2 separate regions of the Homo sapiens genome follow, and region 2 is linked to region 1. The links are contacts of gene promoters, found by promoter capture Hi-C in blood cells and fetal thymus (Javierre and others, 2016). All regions are on one chromosome and are shown on one strand. Each heading gives the region's core, a stretch centred on a gene start or on the middle of the fragment in contact. The rest is flanking DNA. Distances are from core to core; before and after follow the strand shown. Region 1 holds the start of CTLA4 (cytotoxic T-lymphocyte associated protein 4). Region 2 has its middle 190 kb from the start of INO80D-AS1.

Region 1 (5,593 bases), core at 977-3,476:
CCCTGGCATTGTTGTAGAGTGGAAGATGTTGTTAGATGAAGGAAGCCACAGAGCCGAGGGCACCAGGTCGCTTCCTCTCTAGGTTGAGGCAACCCTGCTGTTAACTCCTGTGGGCTTCCCCTGACACCACCGCTGCCTCTCTGCCCTTTATTTCTCCTTCCCTTGAACACTCCCATGCTCCTTTGTTCTCTTTTCCCACAGGATAAAGGAGACCAGCTCTCCATACAGAGAGGCTTGCATCAACTCAAAAATAGTGGCTGCATGCCAAATTACCTTCCTGTAACTAACCAGGCCCCTCTCCAGTCAGTCTGACAAGTGAAACTCAAAACTTGTGTTGCATGATGTCACTCATCTGCTCAATCCCTTTGACACTTTACTAACACTGATCGCAAAAACAAATACAATAAATAACATTCAATGAGTCCCCCATGATCCAATTCCAATCTATCACTCTGGTCTGAATTTCTAGGACACACTTTCCTGCTTATAAATCACCCTATATTAGAGACACTAGTCCCTTCCACCAAGCCACTTGCACGGGACATCTGTCCTCAGAAGAGAAAACAGTTTGGCAGCAGCCATTGTCATGTCTATTCCAGCAGCTCTAGCTAGCTAGACTACAGCTTCCTTCCCTAACCCTCACCTCTGCCTATCAGAGATGCCCTCTGAGCATCCTTAGCACTGTGATAACTCCATTGCAGTAGTTCATTACTTTCTGCTCTGTATTAAAGTTATTTGTGAGCTAATCATATCTCCTCACTCTTTTACTTGTGGTTCATGAACTCCTGTGAGCAGTGATTATAGCCCACCCAAGTGAGCACTCAATAATCTTTATTGTATTGACTCTAAGCTTAAGAAATCCTAAATGTCCTGCCCTCTCCCCAAGCAAGCTCACACTCATCACCACTAAATGCGGTCACACTCAACTTTCCAGTATTGGGAGGGTCCTGTTACTGGTTGAGATAAATTTACTTTAGGAAATTTAAATACTTCTAAGAGTGTTTATTTAATCTTTACATATTTAAAACATGTAAAAATAAGAAAACATATATGAATATTTCTTCTCCAGTAAAAATTAAATCATCAAATATCTTTTGAGTACCTACTTCATACAAACTACATGGTTTCTTAACCAAGAAGGTCTAGAGAGAGATAAGGTTGAGATTCAATGGATATACTCATCATTTTAAGCCGTGTAACAAACCTGGTGTCAGTCTCTGAAGAGCTGAAAACTGAGGATCTGCATCTGAAACCCACACGTAGGTCAGGCAACAATTAAGTATTGTATGCCAAACAGACTGGTGGCTTTCTTTCTTTCCTTTTCCTTGTCTTTTTTTTTTGGCAATTTCAAACTTTTATTTTTAAATAATTGGCTAATTAGCTAGTAGAATTGATTAAGAGAACCTTAAAACCTTGAATTAAGTAAAGAAGGCATTCTTCCCACAATTTCCCTACATTTTAAACAAGCTGGCTAATTCATTTATAAAGTATATGAATCCGAGGACCTTAAAACCTTGAATTGTATAGCAAAAAAACTCTTCCCAGGATTTGCTTAAGTCAATTTTTTTTAAAGGAACTTGTGAGCTCATCCTGAAACCCAGCTCAAATGTATTCAGGACTATGGCTATCCTTTCCCTCTTAAATCACTTCCAGTCTCATAGAAGGGTCTGAAATTGCCTGTGTCTCTCTACTAAACCAACTCACATGCATTCATGAAGCCCCTACTAAATACCTGGCGCTCTGTTCTGAGCTATCTCTTTGCCTTATTTGCTGCCGCCCAACTGCTCCCTGCTGGCCCTGGAATACAGAGCCAGCCAAGCCAGATTGGAGTTTTACCTTTAACTTCTGGCTTTGCTATAAATCACTGCCTTTGACTGCTGAAACAAATGAAACCCAGGTAGGAGAAACACCTCCTCCATCTTCATGCTCCAAAAGTCTCACTCACCTTTGCAGAAGACAGGGATGAAGAGAAGAAAAAACAGGAGAGTGCAGGGCCAGGTCCTGGTAGCCAGGTTCAGCTGAGCCTTGTGCCGCTGAAATCCAAGGCAAGCCATGGCTTTATGGGAGCGGTGTTCAGGTCTTCAGGAAGTAGAGCAAAACCTTTCAGGATCCTGAAGCTTTGAAATGTGTTTGAACCCACACAGAATCAAGGACTTTATATAGATAGCTTTGATCCCAGATATGTATTACACATGTGCACACACAGAAGGCACTTGAATAGAAAGCCTTTTTGTTTTGGTTTTACGAGAAAGGAAGCCGTGGGTTTAGCTGTTACGTCGAAAAGACAACCTCAAGCACTCAACTGAACAAAACAAGCCAATCCATGGATGGAAAATGTATTCAATTTGAAACTGAAGCTTCATGTTCACTTTGAGGATCTGGATAACTAAGTGGAGACTTGGAGAATTTCCTGGAGTACAAGGGTCCTCCTAAATCCCAATTTTATTCAATCTTCTGGGCATCCTTAACCATCCAGTCCAATTCATTTCATTGACAACTCCAAAACTACTAGGCTGCTAACTTTCTGAGCCCTTGGGCTAATGGCAGGATTTGTCTAGGCATCATTAATAAAAACTGTATTCTATCTGTGAAGCACCATCCTTCTAATGGTCCCTTGACAGCTTTACAAATAAGTTTATTTCTCCTAAATCCATTTAGCATTTGGTTAAGAGAAAAAAACTAAAATCACAAGAAATAAACTGAAAATAGGCGGAAAAGAAGCTGCCTCTGGTTTTGCAGAAGGAAAGAATTCAGGTGTTCTTAAAAGCCTTAACTCAACAGAGACAAAACAGAGTTGAAGAAGGTCCAAAGAAAAGCCAACCCAAATGATTCAAGAGATTAGAGCCGTCCATAAAAGGATAGACTTTTTTTTCTAATACAAATTTTTCAAGCAGAAAATTCAAAAGTGAAGATTAAATATAACCAGAGTCCTTAAATTTGTGACAGCTGTAGACAGGACCAATGATCTAACAAAAAGAATTTGAAACATTGAGGACCTTCCTTAAATCTGGAGAGTTTTCATACATTTTAATAAAGAAAGAAACATTCATGGGGAACCTGTAATATGCCCGGAATTCTGTGCACTTAGGATTGAATGATGACAAAACAAAAACATAGTTGATACCTTAAGGGGCTTCTAGAAGGCTGACATGCAAACAGACAGTTGTAACAGGGAATATGACATTTGCCTACTCCAGTCCGTCCATGGTTTCCCATTGTCCACACCTCAGCACAGCAGAGGAGACTCTGCAGAATACTCACCAAATGCCTCCCTCTTTGGCCTGTACCCCAGCATTCCCTCCCATTCCCCCTTCCTGCATTTGTCTTTCCTTCCACGTGCCTCTTTCAGGCCTCATCACCTTTACCCATGCTGTTCCTACTGCCTTTTTTCTCCTATTATCTTATTTTATACTCCTTCTCATCCTCCAGGACTTAGCTCAGCTGTCATCTCCTCCAGGAAGCCTCTTCTTTTTTTTTTTAAAATTTTATTATTATTATACTTTAAGTTTTAGGGTACATGTGCACAACATGCAGATTTGTTACATATGTATACATGTGCCATGTTGGTGTGATGCACAGAAGCCTTTTCTGACCTGCCTGTTTTCTATACACTGCTACACATTATAGAAACCTTCAAGCCCCAGCTCAAGCGCCAACAAGCAATAACAACCTAATGGGCACTTCCTAATGCCAGACTGGGCAACAGAGGTTTTTTAAAAAGTGAAAAACAAATGTTCCTGCCCTCAAGAGGAACACACAGCAGTGGCAGGGACAGACAGCTAAACCCATGATCATGATAGAGTGAGATCAATGCTGGAATTGAAGTATTATGTAGAGGAGCAGAAGCCAGTGGTTCAGCCTGTGGAAGTCAGAAAGGGCTTCTCAGAAGACGAAAAGCCTGAACTTATTATTGAGAACAGAGAAAAGGGTGGATATTCAGACAAGAAGAATAACATGGGCTAAAGTTGGAAACGGCATGAAGAGTTCATTATGGTCACAGGACAAAGCTTGTCTGGGGATGAGCAGAAGGTGCAAGCGGATGCTCTTAGCAGCAAGGGCCAATGAAACATAAGGAGCAAACTGGTATGACTGAGTTCACATTTGGGGGAAATTTTAGGGATGGGGAGGATGGGTTCAGGGAGAAATGTAACCAGGAAGACTGGGAAGAAGACTATTGGAATACGCCAGGCACCAGGATTTGGAAAGCTTTCTGAAGGGGGCAAAATAGTAAATATGTTATGATTTGCAAACGGTGGGGTCTCTGTTGCCACTACTCAACTCTGTCATTTTAGAATGAAAGAAGCCATATATTATATGTAAACAAATGGGTGTGTGTGCATTCCAATAAAACTTCATTTACGAAAATAGGTGAAGTCTGGATTTGGCCTGTGGGCCATGGTTTGCCAACCCCTGGTCTAAACTAAGGTAATGACAGCTGTGAAGACGAGGTCCCTATGGGACTAGTCCACAATCAGTGAGTGGAAGGAGAAGTTTAGAATGAATGACACCAGAATTATGGTTTGAGAAGTACTGTGGTGCTGCAGAAATTATTCAAATGTCAAGTTTTCTTTCTTTTCTTTTTTATTTTTTTGAGACAGAGTTTCACTCTTGTTTCCCAGGTTGGAGTGCAGTGGCGCGATCTCGGCTCACTGCAACCTCTGCCTCCTGGGTTCAAGTGATTCTCCTGCCTCAGCCTCCCAAGTAGCTGGGATTGCAGGCACCCACCACCACGCCCAGCTAATTTTTTGTATTATTTTAGTAGAGATGGGGTTTCGCCATGTTGACCAGGCTAGTCTCAAATTCCTGACCTCAGGTGATCTACCCGCCTCGGCCTCCCAAAGCGCTGGGATTACAGGCGTGAGCCACCGCGCCCAGCAAGTTTTGTTTCTTTCAAGTCCATAACAACCCTACAAGACAAGAGTTACCATTTTTCCCATTTTATAAAGAAGGAAATCAAGGCATTGAAAGTTAAGGTGACTTACCCAATCACCCGTAGGAAGTGGCAGAGCCAGGATTTGAAGCCAGTGATACCTTTATCACTATGCTAAAGCAAAGATTTTGAAGCCCAAGATAACTGGATTTGTATCCTAGCATGGGGACTTGCTTACTGTTGACCTGGGGCTCAAAGCCCAATGTCCTCCAGATAATGGCATCTAATTCTCAAGATTATTGAAAAGATTAAATGAGATAATGCATGTAACATGTATAAAAGGCCTATTGTAACAGATAGCCACTCAATAAATAGGCCTTTCTTATTATAGGGTCAATGAGAAGACAGAGGTGCAATTTACTGGAATAAATAACAGGAAGAGCAGGTGAGAAAGTGAAATGACAGCTTTCATCTGAGTATGTTGAGTTTATGGCATCCATGGAAAATAGTTGCCAATAGGATTCTGGAGCACAGGAAGAGACATTAGTTTAGGCAACTATGAAGCCACTGATGAAAATGTCACAGGCCAAGCCACAAAACGAGCATTCTTTAAACATTTGTTAAATAGGTAGGTAAATGAATGAAGACAGTTTAACATAAGAAGAGATGAGGGTTGTAATTAGAACTTTCAAAGACGTCTTACCAGATTCCTTAATTATGCTC
Region 2 (5,803 bases), core at 1,398-3,897, 2.0 Mb before region 1:
TGACTTTGGGAGGAGTCAGCGGCCATCACTCTGTGGCTTGTGAGCAGGCATTTGTGTAAACGGGTGCGTTTTAAGACTGTGAAGGTGACGCAGAGCCACAAAACCTAGTTCAAAACTTCCAGGACCCATGGGTTTCAGAGAGAGCACTTAAAGATGTACAATAAAACCTCCGAACCACGTGGCCAGAGGATGCTCCTGAATGTCACAAAGGTAGAACAGGCAACAGCCTGACTTTGAAGAATAGCCTAGGAAGAACAGGTCTCTATTGATAAAAACCATTACTGCAGTTATATATCATGATAATATTAATTACATAATCATTGAAATGGCCCTCCCGGATGTCATCCTCTGACCTGAGGGCTGAGCCACACAAGGCAGTTTAGCAGTAATTGGTAGTTTCTCTAGATGTGTTAAATGGAAGGGTGGGCAGCTAAACCCTGTCGCCAAGACTGGGTCTTAAAGCAGGCAGGCGGGCCTTGAGAGATGCTGTCAAGACTATTATACTGGCTGGGCATCACGGGTTCATTGCCAACTGCAAGAACATCACTCAGCTAAGCATATTTGTTTCTTGAAGCGGAAGCACACTGTTTTAGCCCTGAAATTGCATTAAAGATTCTTTTCAAGTTATGAAGAGGAAAAGGGAAAAGAAACATACTGCCAAAACATGCAGAGATTCTCAGCAGAGCCAATATATATTCTGTGTTAGTCAGGATGGGCTAGGCTTTTCTGCAGTAACAAATCTCCAAATCTTAGGGGCTGCATACTGCCTATTTCTCATTCATGTTACAGTCTGGCATAATTTGAGTGGCTTTCCTTGGTGGACTCCTTCACTCAGTGACTCAGGGATCAAAGCTCCTTCAATCTTACATTCCTACCATCTTAAACATATGGACTTCAAGTTGGTCACTGAAGAGAAAGAACTGGAGGATCACATAGTTTTGTTTGTTTGTGTGTGTGTTTTTAAGAAAAGTGGCTGGGTGTGGTGGCTTATGCCTGCAATCCTAGCAATTTGGGAGGCCAAGGTGGGTGAATTGCCTGAGCTCAGGAGTTTGAGACCAGCCTGGGCAACACGGTGAAACTCCGTCTCTACTAAAATACAAAAAATTAGCCAGGTATGGCAGCGGGTGCCTATAATCCCAGCTACTTGGGAGGCTGAGGCAGGAGAATCGCTTGAACCTGGGAGGCGGAGGTTGCAGTGAGTCGAGATCGTGCCACTGTACTCCGGCCTGGGTGACAGAGCAAGACTCTGTCTCAAAACAAACAAACAAACAAACAAACAAAAAACAAAAAACATACTGCCACATGCAGCACCTCATTTGGATGTGTCTGGAGCCTTGGAAGCTTCACTACCCAACATTTTCCTGCAAATGGACCTTGAGAGCTTGTTTGGAGGTTCTAGCAAGGGAATGCAGCTACTTATATACCCTTGACCAAATATTGGCCTTCTACTGGGGAAGGTTGTCTTCTTCAACCAAGCATGCAGCTTCAGGAGGGATGAACATGGAGTGGTGAGGCTCAGGAGGGCATACCCACCTAGCCAGCCAGATCAGCCGAATCAACCCTGGTGATCAGTGGGGTGACAGATGTTGCAGCCAGACCACCGTCACATCCTTGCATGGGTTGTTTTTTGTTTTTGTTTTTTTTGAGACGGAGTCTTGCTCTGTCACCCAGGCTGGAGTGCAGTGGCGTGATCTTGGCTCACTGCAAGCTCCACCTCCAGGGTTCACGCCATTCTCCTGCCTTAGCCTCCTGAGTAGCTGGGACTATAGGTGCCCGCCACCATGCCTAGCTAATTTTTTGTATTTTTAGTATAGACAGGGTTTCACCATGTTAGCCAGGATGGTCTCGATCTCCTGATCTCGTGATCCGCCCACCTCGGCCTCCCAAAGTGCTGGGATTACAGGTGTGAGCCACTGCGCCTGGCCCTCGCCTGGGTTGTTTTTAAGGGTCAGGCCTGAAAATGACTTTAGTAACTTCTGTTCATATTCTACTGGGCAGAAGTAGCACCCTGTTTCTAATTTAGCTGTGAATGAGATGGCTTAAATGACAGGGGAGCCTGGGACATGTCATCTTTCTGTGTGCCTGAGACAAGATGGTGGACACACAGCATTGTCTCTGCAACCATCTTCTAGAGGGGAAACAAGCTCTGGTAGGGCAGATGGTGTAGAAGATGCTGCTGAAGCCCTGCCCTTTTCCCTTTGGCCCACCTCTGAGTTCACTTGCAGCTGCAAAGGCCACTCTTGTGCATGCTCACAGCTGCCTACCACAGACGCCCTCATCTCTCTGCTTCTATACCTGAGGGATCTGTCAGCCAGAGCACAGGGCAGACCAGAGACGCCTAGAATATAATTCCCCCAGAGGTGGTCCCCAGCCTGTGAGGGTTAGGAATTGGTGGATAAGTATTGCAGCTTCCTTGGCCCTCCTGGGGAAAGTTCTGAGGTGTACTCTACAGTTCTTTAGTGGGGCCAGGCCAGAGTCTCCCATCGTGGCAGCCTCCTCACCAGCTTACCAACTCACCCTTCATTGTTTGCTTCTCCCTTCTGGATTTCACTTTCCCTTCTCATTCTCTTGCCTTTCCAGGATCTTTCCCAATAACCTATTGACTCTCAGGTCCTTGTCTCAGAGTCTGCTTCCAGGAGAATCCAAACCAGGAACTGATGCGGAATGCTTAGAAGCAGCTAAAAGAGTAATCCCATGGGAGGGTGTATTAGTCTGTTTTCACGCTGCTGATGAAGACATACCCGAGACTGGGTAATTTAAAAAGAAAAAGAGGCTTAATGGACTCACAGTTCCACGTGCCTGGGAAGACATCACAATCATGATGGAAGGTGAAAGGCACGTCTTACATGGCAGCAGTCAAGAGAGGAAATCAGAACCAAACAAAAGGGGTTTCCCCTTATAAAACTATCAGATCTCGTGAGACTTATTCACTACCACGAGAACAGTATGGAGGAAACCACCCCCACAATTCAATTATCTCCAACTGGGTCCCTCCCATAACACATGGGAATTATGGGAGCTACAATTCAAGATGAGATTTGGGTGGGGACACAGCAAAATGATATCAGACAGAAAGGCCGGTGAGTGGATTCATAGGCATCTCTCCTCATTTTCTTTTTCTTTGCCATGAAAGGAAGATATTCCAGGGAAGAGGGATTTGAGTGGGAAGTCTGGGAAATTTTCTCAGCAGGAATGATGCAGTATGCATGGAAACAAAGTATTAGCTGCAGATATGACATGATTAATGGCTTCTGATGCCTGGAAAGTGGTGGGGATGTGTGTGGTTTGATAAGTGCTGCTTATCTAGAATACAATTCTGTGACTTTTCCAAAATGCAAACTGCCTTAGTCATTTGGGCTACTATAACAACATACCTTAGACTAGGTAATTTATAAACAATGGAATTTATTGCTCACAGTTCTGGAGGCTGGGAAGTCTACAATCAAGGCATTCAGCAGTTTTTTTGGTGTCTGGTGAGAGCCTGTTCCTCGTAGATGGCACCTTCTTGCTTTATGCTCACGTGGTGAAAGAGGAAGGCAACTCTCTGGGGCTTCTTTCATAAGGGCACTAATCCCATTCATTAGGGCAGACTCCTCATGACCTAATCACCTCCCAAAGGCTTCACCTTCTAATACCATTACCTTGGTGATTAGGTTTCAATGTATGAATTTTGGGTGAACACAAACATTCAGAGCATAGCACAAACATTTTGCTTAAAATTCTTCACTTAACAAGATGTAAGCAAAACTCTAGATTCCTCAAGGTGGCATACAAAGTCCTTTGTGATTTGATCTGTCTTTCCATGTCCTACTCTTCCAGCATCCGGTCATGCCACCTGCTCTGTACCCAGGCTTCCAAGAAGACCTTCTTCTCCTGTGAGGATGTCTGTAACTCTTTCTTCAAGAAATGATACTTTCAAGAACAAACCCAACTAAGGCCTTTGGTGAAGCTTTCTCCTACTTCCCCAGCCAGATTTTCATTATTTATTCATTCATCGAGTATTTTTAAAATGCCTATAGCATGCCAGGCACTGTTCAATATACTGGGGATAGAGCAGGGAATTAAAAAAAAGACAAAAACACCTACCCTGACGAGTTTCGCAGTATAGTGTGGGGAATTAGAAATAAGCATCTGTCTCTTCTCTGGTCTTTAAGCACCTCACAGACACTGGCCATGTCTGTTCATCTGTTTATTCCCAGCATCTAACAGAGTGCTCAACACATCTGCTTGATGACTACGTTTTGAGCACTAGGAGACGACCACAGAAGAGCTAAGAAGTGATAACAGTTGCATTTAGTGGAGAACAGTATTCACACCTTGTTGTCTAGATTGCCTTGAAATCACGCTCCATATTTTATCTTTTATTTTTTCATTTCTTAGAAAAAACTGTTAATCTATTTAGAGTAATTTTATTGAGGAGTCTTTTTTTTTTTTTTTTTTTTTTTGAGACAGGGTCTCGTCCTGTTGCCCAGGGTGGAGTGCAGTGGTGCAACCACAGCTCACTGCAGCCTTGACCTCCTGGGCTCAAGCAATCCTCCCACATCAGCCTCCTGAGTAGCTGAGAATACAGGTATGTGCCACCCTGCCCTGCTAATTTTTTATTTTTTGTAGAGACTGGGTCCCACTGTGTTGCCCAGATGGGTGTCAAACTTCTGGGCTCAAACAATCCCCCCGCCTTGGCCTCCCAAAGAGCTGGGATTACAGGAATGAAGCATTGCACCTTTAAAAAAAAAAAAAAAGGCCAGGTGCAGTGGCTCAAGCCTGTAATCCCAGCATTTTGGGAGGCCAAGGTGGGCAGATCACGAGGTCAGGAGATTGAGACCATCCTGGCTAACACAGTAAAATCCTGTCTCTACTAAAAATACAAAAAATTAGATGGGCGTGGTGGTGCATGCCTATAGTCCCAGCTACTCAGGAGGCTGAAGCAGGAGAATCACTTGAACCCAGGAGGTGGAGGTTGCAGTGAGCCGAGATTGCGCCATTGTACTCCAGCCTGGGCAACAGAGCAAGACTCCATCTCAAAAAAAAAAAAAGAATAAAAACTATGACATTGCATAACACTGTGAATATATTCAATGCTACTGAATTGTACACTTTAAAGTGGTTAAGATGGTCAATGTTATGTGTATTTTAACTCTAATAGAAAAAAAAGTGAGGCTGCATTTCATTCAACAGAGAGGCACTCACTATGTACCTGGCACTACTCTGGGTTTGTGGGCTATAAAGATGGATAAGTCCCTGTCCTTGGAGGACTCAGACTTAGCAGGAGACAGGCACCTGAGCCACAGAGACAATCAAGAGTTGCTCCCTGTGCCCAGGGAGAACTCTGTTCAGCCCACAGCACCTTAGCCACTAGTGACAGCCACCTGACTTGCAGCATCATGAGTACCTGGATCATCACAGAGGAACCAATCAGTTTTTATATAGGGCTAACTTTGGTGTTTTCAAAAATGTCAAGTAAAACACACAACAGAACATTGATAAGAGCAGGATTCCAAGGTATCGGTTGGACAGTAAACAGAGGGGCCCAGCCAAGCATATTCCCATGCTGCAAAGCCACTTGATATTAACACACATCTTGAAGCAATCAACACTGCCCTGGCAGGCCCTGGCGGATGGCACTTGTGAATATTTAGAAATGGGGCAGCCCTGTTTGGGAAAACTGTCAGATTGACTGTAGGTTAGGAGAGAGGGGGTAGAGACAGTAATAGAATAATCACGTGACCCCTGACATGAGGCAAGGGAGAGGCTCTCACAACCCGCCCTGCATCTCAGAGACTGCCAGCTGCATCCCACTGCTTCT

What was found. The method cuts DNA at HindIII sites, captures the fragments that hold promoters and counts their contacts. A CHiCAGO score of 5 or more calls a contact.
Region 2: a contact is called between a fragment that was not itself captured here and the fragment with the promoter of CTLA4 in region 1, in 1 of 17 cell types (M0 macrophages). The highest score is 6.0, in M0 macrophages.

Annotation. Positions count from the first base shown.
Region 1 is chr2:203,864,404-203,869,996 of GRCh38, reverse strand. CTLA4 (cytotoxic T-lymphocyte associated protein 4) reads right to left here and starts at 2,226. Exons shown (of 4, transcript NM_005214.5): 1 at 1,946-2,226. The coding sequence starts at 2,054. The HindIII fragment of the contact is 240 bases long and covers 2,120-2,359 here.
Region 2 is chr2:205,896,438-205,902,240 of GRCh38, reverse strand. It overlaps the pseudogene RN7SKP178. Among named protein-coding and RNA genes, the nearest start is that of INO80D-AS1, 190 kb to the left of the region's middle. The HindIII fragment of the contact is 2,608 bases long and covers 1,344-3,951 here.